Regions from separate parts of the Homo sapiens genome. Here region 1 is linked to region 2. The links are contacts of gene promoters, found by promoter capture Hi-C in blood cells and fetal thymus (Javierre and others, 2016). All regions are on one chromosome and are shown on one strand. Each heading gives the region's core, a stretch centred on a gene start or on the middle of the fragment in contact. The rest is flanking DNA. Distances are from core to core; before and after follow the strand shown. Region 1 overlaps PEDS1-UBE2V1 (PEDS1-UBE2V1 readthrough). Region 2 holds the start of SNAI1 (snail family transcriptional repressor 1).

The links. Contacts are between HindIII fragments. The CHiCAGO score rates a contact against its expected background, and 5 or more counts as called.
Region 1: a contact is called between a fragment that was not itself captured here and the fragment with the promoter of SNAI1 in region 2, in 2 of 17 cell types (monocytes and naive B cells). The highest score is 7.5, in monocytes.

Annotation. Positions count from the first base shown.
Region 1 is chr20:50,093,297-50,099,300 of GRCh38, reverse strand. PEDS1-UBE2V1 (PEDS1-UBE2V1 readthrough) reads left to right here. Exons shown (of 8, transcript NM_199203.3): 6 at 2,481-2,629. It overlaps UBE2V1 (ubiquitin conjugating enzyme E2 V1), which reads left to right. Exons shown (of 4, transcript NM_001032288.3): 2 at 2,481-2,629. Among named protein-coding and RNA genes, the nearest start is that of UBE2V1, 17 kb to the left of the region's middle. RefSeq lists an enhancer at 1-39. The HindIII fragment of the contact is 8,180 bases long and covers 1-6,004 here.
Region 2 is chr20:49,979,917-49,985,237 of GRCh38, reverse strand. It overlaps SNAI1 (snail family transcriptional repressor 1), which reads right to left and starts at 2,258. Exons shown (of 3, transcript NM_005985.4): 1 at 2,097-2,258; 2 at 887-1,414. The coding sequence starts at 2,178. RefSeq lists a silencer at 2,244-2,763 and an enhancer at 2,916-3,853. The HindIII fragment of the contact is 8,892 bases long and covers 1-5,171 here.

The DNA.
Region 1 (6,004 bases), core at 1,254-3,753, 110 kb before region 2:
AGATCAAGGTGTCAGCAGGTTTTGTCACATTCTGAGGTACTGGGAGTTAGGACTTAAGTATATAAATTTGAGGGGAACACAGTTCAGCCCAGCCCATAGCACGATCTGTGAACAAGTACCTCAGTCATCAGCCTTCCTATCAATATGATTCTTTTGATGTTCATTTTTATTAGTGCAGGCTTGTAAATTAACCAGTAGTAATGTAGTGACTTTTCCCCCGCTAGCCTAATTAGGATTATTAAAGATTTAGATTGAACCCTTTCTGAACAATAGTTGTGTTGTCTGGCTTTTTGCCTATAATGTCACCACTATCTTTCAGTTTTATGTTTGCTACAGGAGACTTAATCCAGTATAGCTGAATAATCCAGTTGGCTGCTGTGCAGATGAAAATGCCAGTGTTTTCCAAACAAGCAGTTCAAGTATGCTTGCAGGTTTTGCTGTTTCCTTTCAAATACCATATGTAGTACTATTTAATATTTTTCTTGTAATCAACTGACTCTTTTGCTTACATTTATTTTAAAGGAAACTTTTACCATTATTATAAATGGGAAGTTAGTATATTACTTACCCTAAATAAGTTATTCTTAAACATAAATACGTGACTGTAAAACGAAGTGTTCAATCACATACCACCGAAAGTCCTCTAACATACCACTACCAACTCTGTCCTTCAGTTGCTTGGACCAAAAACCTGGGAGCTGTAGTTGACTCTTGTCTCTCACACCTCACAGGCAACCTGATAGCAAATCTCCACAGCTCAGACCTCTGAAATGCCTAGAATTACGCCACTCCTCACTACTTTCCTGCTATCACCCTGGTCCAAACGGGTATTATCTTTTGCTAGGATTATTGCAGTAGCCTCCTAGCTGCTTCTGCCCTTGCTCCCTTCACTCTCATCCTCACACAGCAGTCTGAGGGATCCTATTAAAAACAAGACAGATCATGTCACTCAGTAACAGTTGGCATCCTTAATCTCCTCTTGCTCTCTCATCTTCCTCACTTGGTTTGAGCTAAATTGGCCTCCTTGCTGTCCTTTGACACCCTAAGCAGCCTCTATTTTAGGGCCTTTGCACTTGTTTGCTCTGTCTCAAAGACTTTCTCCTCAGCTATCCATAAATCATGCCCTCTCACCTTCTTTAGGTCTTTAGTTATGACACCTGATTGCAATAACACTTTTCCTTTATCCCTCCATTTAAAAGTATAGCCCCTCCCGTATTACTCCCTCCTCCGGAACACCAGGATCTGTCATACTGTATAATTTACATATTCATTTTTGTCCATTATATGTCTTCTACTAGAATGTAAGCTGCAGGCATTTTTGTTTTATTCACTGCTTGTTCTTCAGTGCTTAGAAAAGTCCCCGATGTATACTAAGTACTCAAATATTTATTCCAATTGAATTAATGGCGTGTGTCCTACACTTTGGGAAATACATATACTGGCAACACCTCCCACAATCTGGGGTCCCTCCAGTGAGCCTCTCTTCACAGTCACATGGTTAGTCCTGTTTGTCTCTGAGAGTCTGGCCAATTGAGAGCTCAGCATTCAAGGCAGAGAACTTGAAACTTGACTGGATCCTGAGTTTTTTCCAGAGAAAATAGTGCATATGCCAGGGAAAATGGAGGAAGGAGAGACAGTCAGGATTGGTTGGGAGTGCAACCCTAGGAGAGATGATTTGTTCCCCAAGCACAGAAGGAAAGTCCATCTCTCTCTCCTCCCATAGCCCCCTCCCTTGTCTGGCCCCAGTACCTAGGTTCTGTTCTGGAAGACACCTAGAAATGGCTCAAGCCTCAGCCTGAACCCGGTACTGTGGCTTGAACCTGTGAGGTGTTTTCATGCGTTGCTTTCAAGAGCTACTTGCCAGGCTTTGGGATTTTTGGAAAACAATTGAGAACCAGCTATTCCCTTTTAGCTTTTTTGTAAGTTAAAAGAGAAACTATCACTTAAATAATTGAAAAACAATAGAATATTTTATCCTTGGTGCCTTCAGTTGACTCTTAGTTGATTAAGAGGATACCATTTTTATTTCCCATATCCATGGTGACTATTCCTCCTAAAGGTTGTTTGAGAGTCATGCCAACAAATAAGCGTAGTCTTAGCCTCTTGTCTTCCAAGGTACTTTTGTTAGCACCTGATATTGATGGTTTTCATCTCATACTAGTTGACCCCAATTCATAGACATTTAGACATGTAAGCCCCTTAGGAGGTTTGTCCAAGGGGTAGGGGTGGGGTATCTTTCTAAGTTTGGTTATCTAGCCCTAGTCACTTCACCTGTCAGAGAACCATGTGCCCCTTCCCTCTGGTTGTGCTGGTTGATACTGATAGCTTTATAAGTAGCAAGTTTGAGGTGTGATAACTTTCCGTGATTTTTTTGCATGTTAGCATCTTGATTCCCAGGGAGAGATAATGAGCAGCTAGCTCTAGGCTTACAAGTTCCCCTGGAGTTGCTGGTATCTTGAATTTCTTTCCATTTATTTTAGGAGTAAAAGTCCCTCGCAATTTCCGACTGTTGGAAGAACTCGAAGAAGGCCAGAAAGGAGTAGGAGATGGCACAGTTAGCTGGGGTCTAGAAGATGACGAAGACATGACACTTACAAGATGGACAGGGATGATAATTGGGCCTCCAAGAGTAAGCGTCGAGCTACGGCTATAAATGTCAATGTCTTAAATTCACTGTGCCTCCTTTTAAAAAATATTAGCCTTATCACGGAAAAAAAGCTCACCAATGGTATATTTTCTGAAATGTGGCTATTCTTTTTTGACCAGTTTCAGTTTATATATTTGAACCTCCTCTGATGCTGTTTAACCCCTCTAAATGGTAAGCAAAAACCTGTTTAGACTCATAGTGTGAATTTATATGACAATGTAGACAGTGAGGTGTGAAGTCATTGCACCATCAGATGTCGTTCAGAACAATCTCTGGGCTAACCAAATAACTAGGCCCTAGGTATAGCCAGCATTCCTGAAGCCAGTCTCCAAATTAACTCTGGAAAGCCTTCCCAGTTGTGGTTTTTCTTCACTGTCTCCCAGGTCTGCCGTGCACCTGTATCCTAGTTCCTTGGGCCATTCAGCAAAGGTCCCTGGCAAGCCTGTCAGCTCCTGGTCTATTCCAGGCACTACTAGACCCAGAGGCCTTTGCAAAGAAGACGAAGACAATGAGGATGGGGAAAAGTGGCCTCTTTCAGACCTTCCTGATTTGTGAGAGTTCCCAGTCTTCATAATGCCAGCCAACCGTTTTTTGAGGACACATAGTAAACCCTCAAGAAATGTCTCTTAACTCTCACAAGACCCCATTGTTAGGTGCAATTGCATTCCATTTCACAGATGAGGAGACAGACTCAGAGGAGTCAGATCTCTTGCCCAAAGTCACATAGCTGGTAACCCCCAAACCAGATCTGACTCCAGAGCCTGTGCTCTTAACCACTGTGCTGTGGTGTCTCCCTTTTGTTTACATTTTGAGTTTTCATCTGTTACCATTATAGAAGATACTAATCAAGTAGTAACTTGATGTAGGAGTCAAGAAATTGATTTCCATACTGTGACACACACTTCAGACAAGCAGTAAGGGCCTCTGCCTGAATGTAGCAAGACCTGTCCTGTGTCTGCTTGTGTTTAAGGATGATGACAACATTCATTCTTTTGATTGTGTGCAGGACTCTGCACTAGCACTGTGAGAGCAGAAAGACATGTAGGGCGTGGCCCGGGCTGGAACAGGGACAAGTGACATGTTCGTTAAGTGTTAGGACACTAATGCTCATTTCAGATGGTCATCAACACTCATGGTGAATGATTGGCTTTGCCATTTAATGTTGCTTCTTAAGTCATTTTGTGACCCTATAGTTTTGTGGAGTTTTAAAAATATATACATTTGATCTGTTTTTACTCATTTCTTTATCCTTTTTTTCCTGTGAAAACCAGAATTTTCTGCGTCTGCTAAATACCGGGGAAAACCCAATCTAGAAATCCTGTTTCTCCATGGAGATAATTTTCTTTGCTGTCTCTGAAGGTCCATCATATGCTGACATCTTCTTCACTGCATGTCTTCTCTTCCTAAGAATGATTTCGGTTTCTTGAGGATGAGAACTGTGCTTCCCTCCTTACTTCCCAGAATACCTAGAAATGACTCAGAATGGGGTACTCAGTAGATTTGTTAATCAACTTACTGATTTACAGGTTCTAAAATACTGAGAATTGAACCAATGTACAACATTGCGATACACTAAATACCACTGAATTGTACACTTTCAAAAAAACACACAAAACAATGCATCAGTAAATTCTGCTGAAAATATTCTGTCTGCCTAAAACAGCTTGGGCTACCCTGAATTTCAGTTTATCTCTTTCCAAAAGAGGCTTTGGAAGTTGTAATGCGTAGCTACGGTATGCCAGGAGTCCTCCATGTATTTGTTTTTGGTAACAGCTTTATTGGGATAGAATTCACCCTTTTAAATATACAGTTCGGTGGTCTTACATTCAGAGTTGTGCATCCGTCACTAATTTCAGAACGTTTTCATCACCTCAAAAAGGAACCCATACCCATCGGTAGGCACCCCCCATTCTCCCTCCCACATCCCCCATTTCCCATCTTTGACAATCATCAGTCTACTTTCTAGCTCAATGAATTTGCTTTTTCTGAACATCTATTATAAATGGAATTCTACAGTATGTGGCCTTTTGTGACTGGCTTCCTTTACTCAGCATAATTTTTTCAAGGTTCAAGCATATTGTAGCATCTATCAATACTTTTATTCTTCTTATGGCTGAATAATATTCCATTGTACAGATACGCCATATTTTGTTTTTCCATTTGTTGATGAACATTTGGGTTGTTTCTACCTTTTGGCTATTATAAATAATGCTTCTAGGAACATTTATATACAGGTTTGTATGTGGACATATATTTTCTTTTTATTTTTTTATCTACACCTGCTGGAATAGATGGACATAGTTGTTTTTAGCTACCTAATTTTTCCTCCTTTGAAGATGGACATATATTATATATAATTATATATTATATAATGCATTATATATTATATAATGCATTATATATTATATAATGCATTATATATTATATAATGCATATGTTATATATTATATATACTGTATATTTATATAACATATATGATATGTAATATATATTACATATAATTATATATAAGATATATAATTATAATATATAATATATTTTTATTTAAATAAAAGCAAATCCTCCAAGCCTATATATATTATATATATAACATACATAATATATTTTATATATATATATTTTATTATTATTATTATTATTATTTTTTTTTTTTTTTTTTTTTTTTTGAGTTGGAGTCTCGCTCTGTCTCCCAGGCTGGAGTGCAGTGGCGCAATCTCGGCTCACTGCAACCTCCACCTCCCGGATTCAAGCAATTCTCTGCCTCAGCCTCCCGAGTAGCTGGGATTACAGGTACCCGCCACCACGCCCAGCTAATTTTGTATTTTTAGTAGAGACGGGGTTTCACCATCTTAGCCAGGCTGGTCTTGAACTCCTGACCTCATGATCTACCCACCTCGGCCTCCCAAAGTGCTGGAATTACAGGTGTGAGCCATCGCGCCCTGCCGGAGATACATTTTTGAATTCCCCTGGGTGTATACCTAGGAGTGGAATTGCTGGATCATATGGTAACTGTGTTTAACATTTGGAGGAAATGCCAAACTGTTTCCCAAAGTGGCTGCACCATTTTACATTCCTACTAGCAATGCCCGAAAGTTCCCATTTCTCCACATTCTCACCAACACTTGTTATTGTCTTTTCACCCTTGTAGTTTTTATTATCCTGGTTCCCCAAGGTCAGAAACTAAGTCATAAAAGGAACTATCTGTGTGTAGATGCTTCCTGTGACCAATCTTTCATGATTAGCACATGAGCTATTTGCTGTGTAACTCGAATATCCACATAATTATTAAAGCATCTAAATAGAGCACTTGAGTAACTCATCTCCCTATTAGGTTTTTGTTATTGTTTTACTCAAAAG
Region 2 (5,321 bases), core at 1,009-3,508:
TGGCTGCCACCATTCAAGTTCTAAAAAGTTCTACCTTTTCTCCATGTCCAGAAAGTTTTTTACACATTTAGTAAATTTTCAAAAGACGTGATTGTGTTTTCTGCCCCAAAGATGCCGTTTCCTGGTCTGTGTGCTAGGATTCAGTGGGGGTGGGGAAGCCGACCTGAGAACCGTTCGGGTATAATAAATTACTATAAAGTGATTAGCCACCTTTACAGCCACTCTCTAAAACATATGCTATCATAGTTTTCCCCTAAGGCTCAGAGAGGTTAAGTTGCTTGCCCAAAGTCACACAGCAAGGAAGCAGAGCAAATGCCAAGGAACCATTTTTGTGAGAGTTTAGCAGGTACCGGCACTTTGCCAGGTGCTTCCCATATGCATTCCTGCATTTAGCCTGTATAGAAACCCCAAAAGCTGTTCTCATGCCCATCTGAAAGATAGAGAAAATGAGGCTCACAGAAGAGAAACATCAGCCTAAGTTTTGAGAAAGTTCTCAAAGAAGGATTCAGAGCCAGGCGGGGGGTCTGACAACATCCTGTCTGGCTAGGGAGGGGGCGGACCCGGGAGAGGGTGTGGCCGGGTGGGCCCCTTCACACCTGGCCCCCACAGCAAGGTGTTGGTTGCACCTTTCCCATATCCAGCTCCGACCCATTTGGCTGAGAAACAGGCTGCAGGGGATTGGGAAGGTGTCTGCTTTGCCCATCTGCTTAGCTGATGAAGAAAGTTTCTGCCAAACGTTTCCAGAGAGCCAGGCCCTGGAACTTGAGCTAGAAGTTAGAAGACTCGGGGCCTCAGTGTCCACAGCTTTGGGAATGAGAACAGCAAGCCCAGATTCACAAAAGCTGCCAGAGAGAGCAACGGTGGGGGCGCCTGGAGGGGCACGTACCAGTGTGGGTCCGGACATGGCCTTGTAGCAGCCAGGGCCTAGAGAAGGCCTTCCCGCAGGTTCCGCAGACGCAGGGCAGCGTGTGGCTTCGGATGTGCATCTTGAGGGCACCCAGGCTGAGGTATTCCTTGTTGCAGTATTTGCAGTTGAAGGCCTTTCGAGCCTGGAGATCCTTGGCCTCAGAGAGCTGGGCCAGCTGCTTGGGCACTTGGCCCAAGCCTGGGAAGGCAGCATAGGCCTCGGCCTCCAAGGAAGAGACTGAAGTAGAGGAGAAGGACGAAGGAGCCGGTGAGGGTGGGCTGGGGGGCTGGGAGCCTTTCCCACTGTCCTCATCTGACAGGGAGGTCAGCTCTGCCACCCTGGGACTCTCCTGGAGCCGAAGGGAGGCCCAGGCAATTGGCTGGGCTTGGGGCGCCAGGACAGAGTCCCAGATGAGCATTGGCAGCGAGGCGGTGGGGTTGAGGATCTCCGGAGGTGGGATGGCTGCCAGCAGGTGGGCCTGGTCGTAGGGCTGCTGGAAGGTAAACTCTGAGGGAGAAAAAGCAGAGTCAGGCGTTAATTAAATCATTCACTCAATCAACAAACATGAGCCCACCGCTGGCCAGGGGCTGGGTGGGGCCGATTCTCAATACATAATTAGATCAAAAAAATTATCCACAGGACAGACCAGGTTCCTGCCCTCCTCGCCCAGGTCACCCAATCTGAGTCTCTCACACGTAGGACCCCCAGTTGAAGGAGGTCATTTCCTGATCTCCCTCTCCTAAGTCCCCAGTCTCCAGCCTGAGGCCAGAACCCCATCATCCCAGCCCCGGAGCCACCACCCTGCCCCAATCCCCCTCCTCACACACATCTCGTCTCCCCACCCCTCCCCTCAACCCTCTGGACTCCGGACTCTCCCCAGCAGCGTCCAGAGGGCCCTCCTGACACAGGCCTCCTCTCCTTCCCCTCTTGCGGAGCTCCTCCGCCTCTCGCCGGCTACAAAGGCCCCCCAAGCTGAAGACCCCTGCCCTCTACACGGCACTCCCCCAACCACCCAGACAGATCCCCGGAACTGGGGACCCACTTGCCCGGTCTCCCGAGCCCGCAATGGTCCACAAAACATCCTGTGACTCGATCCTGGCTCAGGCAGGCCGCCTCCCTCAGGTGCCCCCCACGCAGCCTTCGCCTGTCTCCCCCAAACCTCCTGGAGCCCAGAACCCCTCCAACGCACCTGGATTAGAGTCCTGCAGCTCGCTGTAGTTAGGCTTCCGATTGGGGTCGGAGGGCTTCCTGACGAGGAAAGAGCGCGGCATAGTGGTCGAGGCACTGGGGTCGCCGATTCGCGCAGCAGTAGCGCAGAAGAACCACTCGCTAGGCCGTGCCGCGGCGCAATGAATGCAGCAGCGCCGCCAACTCCCTTAAGTACTCCGGGGGGGTGGTGGGGGGTGGGAGGGGCGGGGCCTTATCTGCCACGCCCCTTTGTCACCTCCGCGCCAATCGGAGGCTCGTCTCCGCCGAAGGCCACTCCCCGAGCAGGTGCGCCGGCTGCTGGCCGGGCTCGCGCCGCGTGGCGGTGAGAGCCCGGGCGGGGACTCCTCCGAGGCGGGGTTCGCTGGCGCAGCGCGGGTCGTCCCCGGTGCTGGGGCTGTCCGGGGCGGGACGTCGAGCGAAGCGAGGCCTCTGCGAGGTGGGACCCCGGCAGGACGCCGCGCGCCCACCGGCTCAGCGCCCGGTGGTCTGAGCGCTTCTGACGCCCCCTGGCGCTGCGCGCCGGCCGGGACACCTGACCTTCCGACGCCCGCCCCCGCCTCGGGCTTGGGAGGGGGCGGAAATTTCCTCCGCCCGGCTGGCGCCTGGAGAGCGTGGCATTGACGAGGGAAACGCACATCACTGGGGAGGAAGCGAGGAAAGGGACACCGCACGTGGCTCTCGGCGGCTTGAAATGCCACGGCCTTTTTGCAAAGCAGCCTGGCCCAGCTAGCCAAGAGCACCCGTTCCTTCCCTTATCCAGTGTTTACGGAGCGCCCAGCACGTGTGGGGCACTGTACCTGGGGCCAGGGCACAGCCCCGGACAGAACACTCAGAGCCTCTCCCGAAGGGTAGCTTCTGGTCCAGTGAGGGAGACAGACGAAGTAAACAGATAATTACAATGCAAAGGGAAGTGTGCTTTGGTGGGGGAGAGACGGGACGCGGCGACCGTTAAGAGGCGGGTCACCTGACAGGGGGTCGGGGTGACTTCCCAGAGGAAGTGAAGAATTATCAAGGGAAAAGGCCCGAGGGAAGAAGTGGCAACTGCTTCAGAGTAACTCCTAGAGAGCAGCTTCCAGGGATGGGGTGGGATGGGCATGCCCGGAGGGGTCAGATGTGCTGGGCCCCAGGGCCTCGTAGGAGTTTGGACTTTGCCTCAAGGGCACTGGGGAGCCACCGAAGGATTTTCAGCTGAGGAGGGACCTGGTTAGAGTTTCGTTGAAAAAGATCCCTGTAGGCTGGCGGGAGAAAGAAGGCATGGGCCGGGCGTGTCTCCTCACCCCGTGAAGATCCTCGATCCTGTGTCTAAAGGCTGTAACACGGCTCCATAGGGGCCCTGACTGAATGCATGTGGGGTGGGCCCAAGTGAGGGGCAGCTGCACCCCCACCCCAGCTTCCCTGGGAGGCGTACCAGGCCCGGGGGTGGCTCTGAAATAAACCTCACAGGTCTCACCGTTCTTGTTTCCACCTGTGAAGGAAGACTATAAAAACCTATAAGCACCCCACACCACCACCACCACCAACCTGAAGGGCAGAACTACTGTCTGTTTAGTCACTTGGTGCCGGGTGTGACAGCCGTGAACAAAATCGTCCTCCCCTGGTTCTAGCTGGAGAGCGGGCAGTAGGGTGGGGGACAGAGGCAGTAAGCAGTCATTAAGCGGAATACTCCCCGTCCCGTGTCAATTTAGCTCCAATCAGGATCCTTTGCTTGAAGCCAAAGTGAGGCCAGATCACCCCCTCCTCTGCTCAAACCCTCCCATGCGCCTGTCTCAGAGTAAAAGCCAAAGTCCTCTCCTCAGCCAACTCGGCCCCGCTGCTCTGACCCCAGCTGACATTGGCTTGAGCCTCTCTCCCTCCCCCATGCACAAGGATCCCACCCCCAGCCTTCCTTCTGTTCCTCCAACATCCCAGACCTTTCCCACCTTGGCACCTGCTGCTCTTCCTCCTCTCCCCTACGTCTCTTGCTCCTAGATCTTCACGCTGGCTTCCTTTCATTCTTTGTTTCAGCAGCAACTTCACTAACTGCTCAGCCTCGTTTAGTGAAGAGAGAAATGGCAAATTCAAGCCACAGTGAGCTGCCATTTCACGCCCATCAGAAGGACAACAAGGAAAAATTTGGTCACTATCAAGAGTTGATGAGGAGGTGAGAGCTGGCGAGAGGGTCGGTGGGCATAGTCACTTTGGAAAAGTTTGGCATCAGCTAGCAACAGGTGACTCCTCTCCCTGTCTGTCCTCAAGCCAACTGCATCCCAGGGGCTGCAGCTGACAAGTCTGTCCTCAAACCAACTGCATCCCAGGGGTTCTCAGCTCTGGCAGCACATTAGATCCCCACAGGGAAGGATTAAAACACCTAAGCCTCGGCCCACCCCACCCCCACCCACATCTTGATTTAATTAGTCTGGGTGGGGCCTCTGGCATCAGCATTTTAAAAAACTCCCCTGGGGATTATAATGAGCAACCAAGCAAAGTAAAGAACTGTTGTCCAGCCCAAACCCCGAAAAAACAAAAAAGGATATTCATTGTACCCTCGTTCCTAATAGCAAAAAAAGCAAAAACTAAAACAAAACTGGATACAACACAAATGTTTATAAACAGTAGACTGGATTAATGAACCCTGGTGCAATCCTGTAATAGAATACTATACAGCAATAAAAATGAACTACAACTCCATGCAGCAACAGGGATGAATCTCAAAAACACAATGTCGAGCAGAGGTCACAAACAAATGCATAGTTATTTGGATTTATACGAGGTTCTGAAGCAGGCAAATGAAACCCTATATTATTTAGGGATGTATGTGGGGGTTGTAGAATTAGAAAGAAAAGCAAGGAAGTGGTTTTTTGTTTTGTTTTTGAGACGGGGTCTTGCTCTGTCACCCAGGCTGGAGTGCAGTGGCACAATCACGGCTCACTGCCGCCTGGAACTCCTGAGCTCAGCCTGCCAAAGTGCTGGGATTACAGGGGTGAGCCACTATGCCGGCTGCAAGGAGATGTTTGATACAAAATTCTGAAGAGTGGCTGGTGAGGAGGGGAGGCAAGAACAGGCTGCACATGAAGCTTCTAGAATTTTGGTAATGATCTGTTTCCTAGGCAGGGAGGGATCTTTATTGTTAGTCTTTCTACTGTACATGGACTATTTATTTTACCGTATCTTCATGACATGGTAGTGTACAGAGACAATTTAAACACTTTTAGGTATGAATAATATA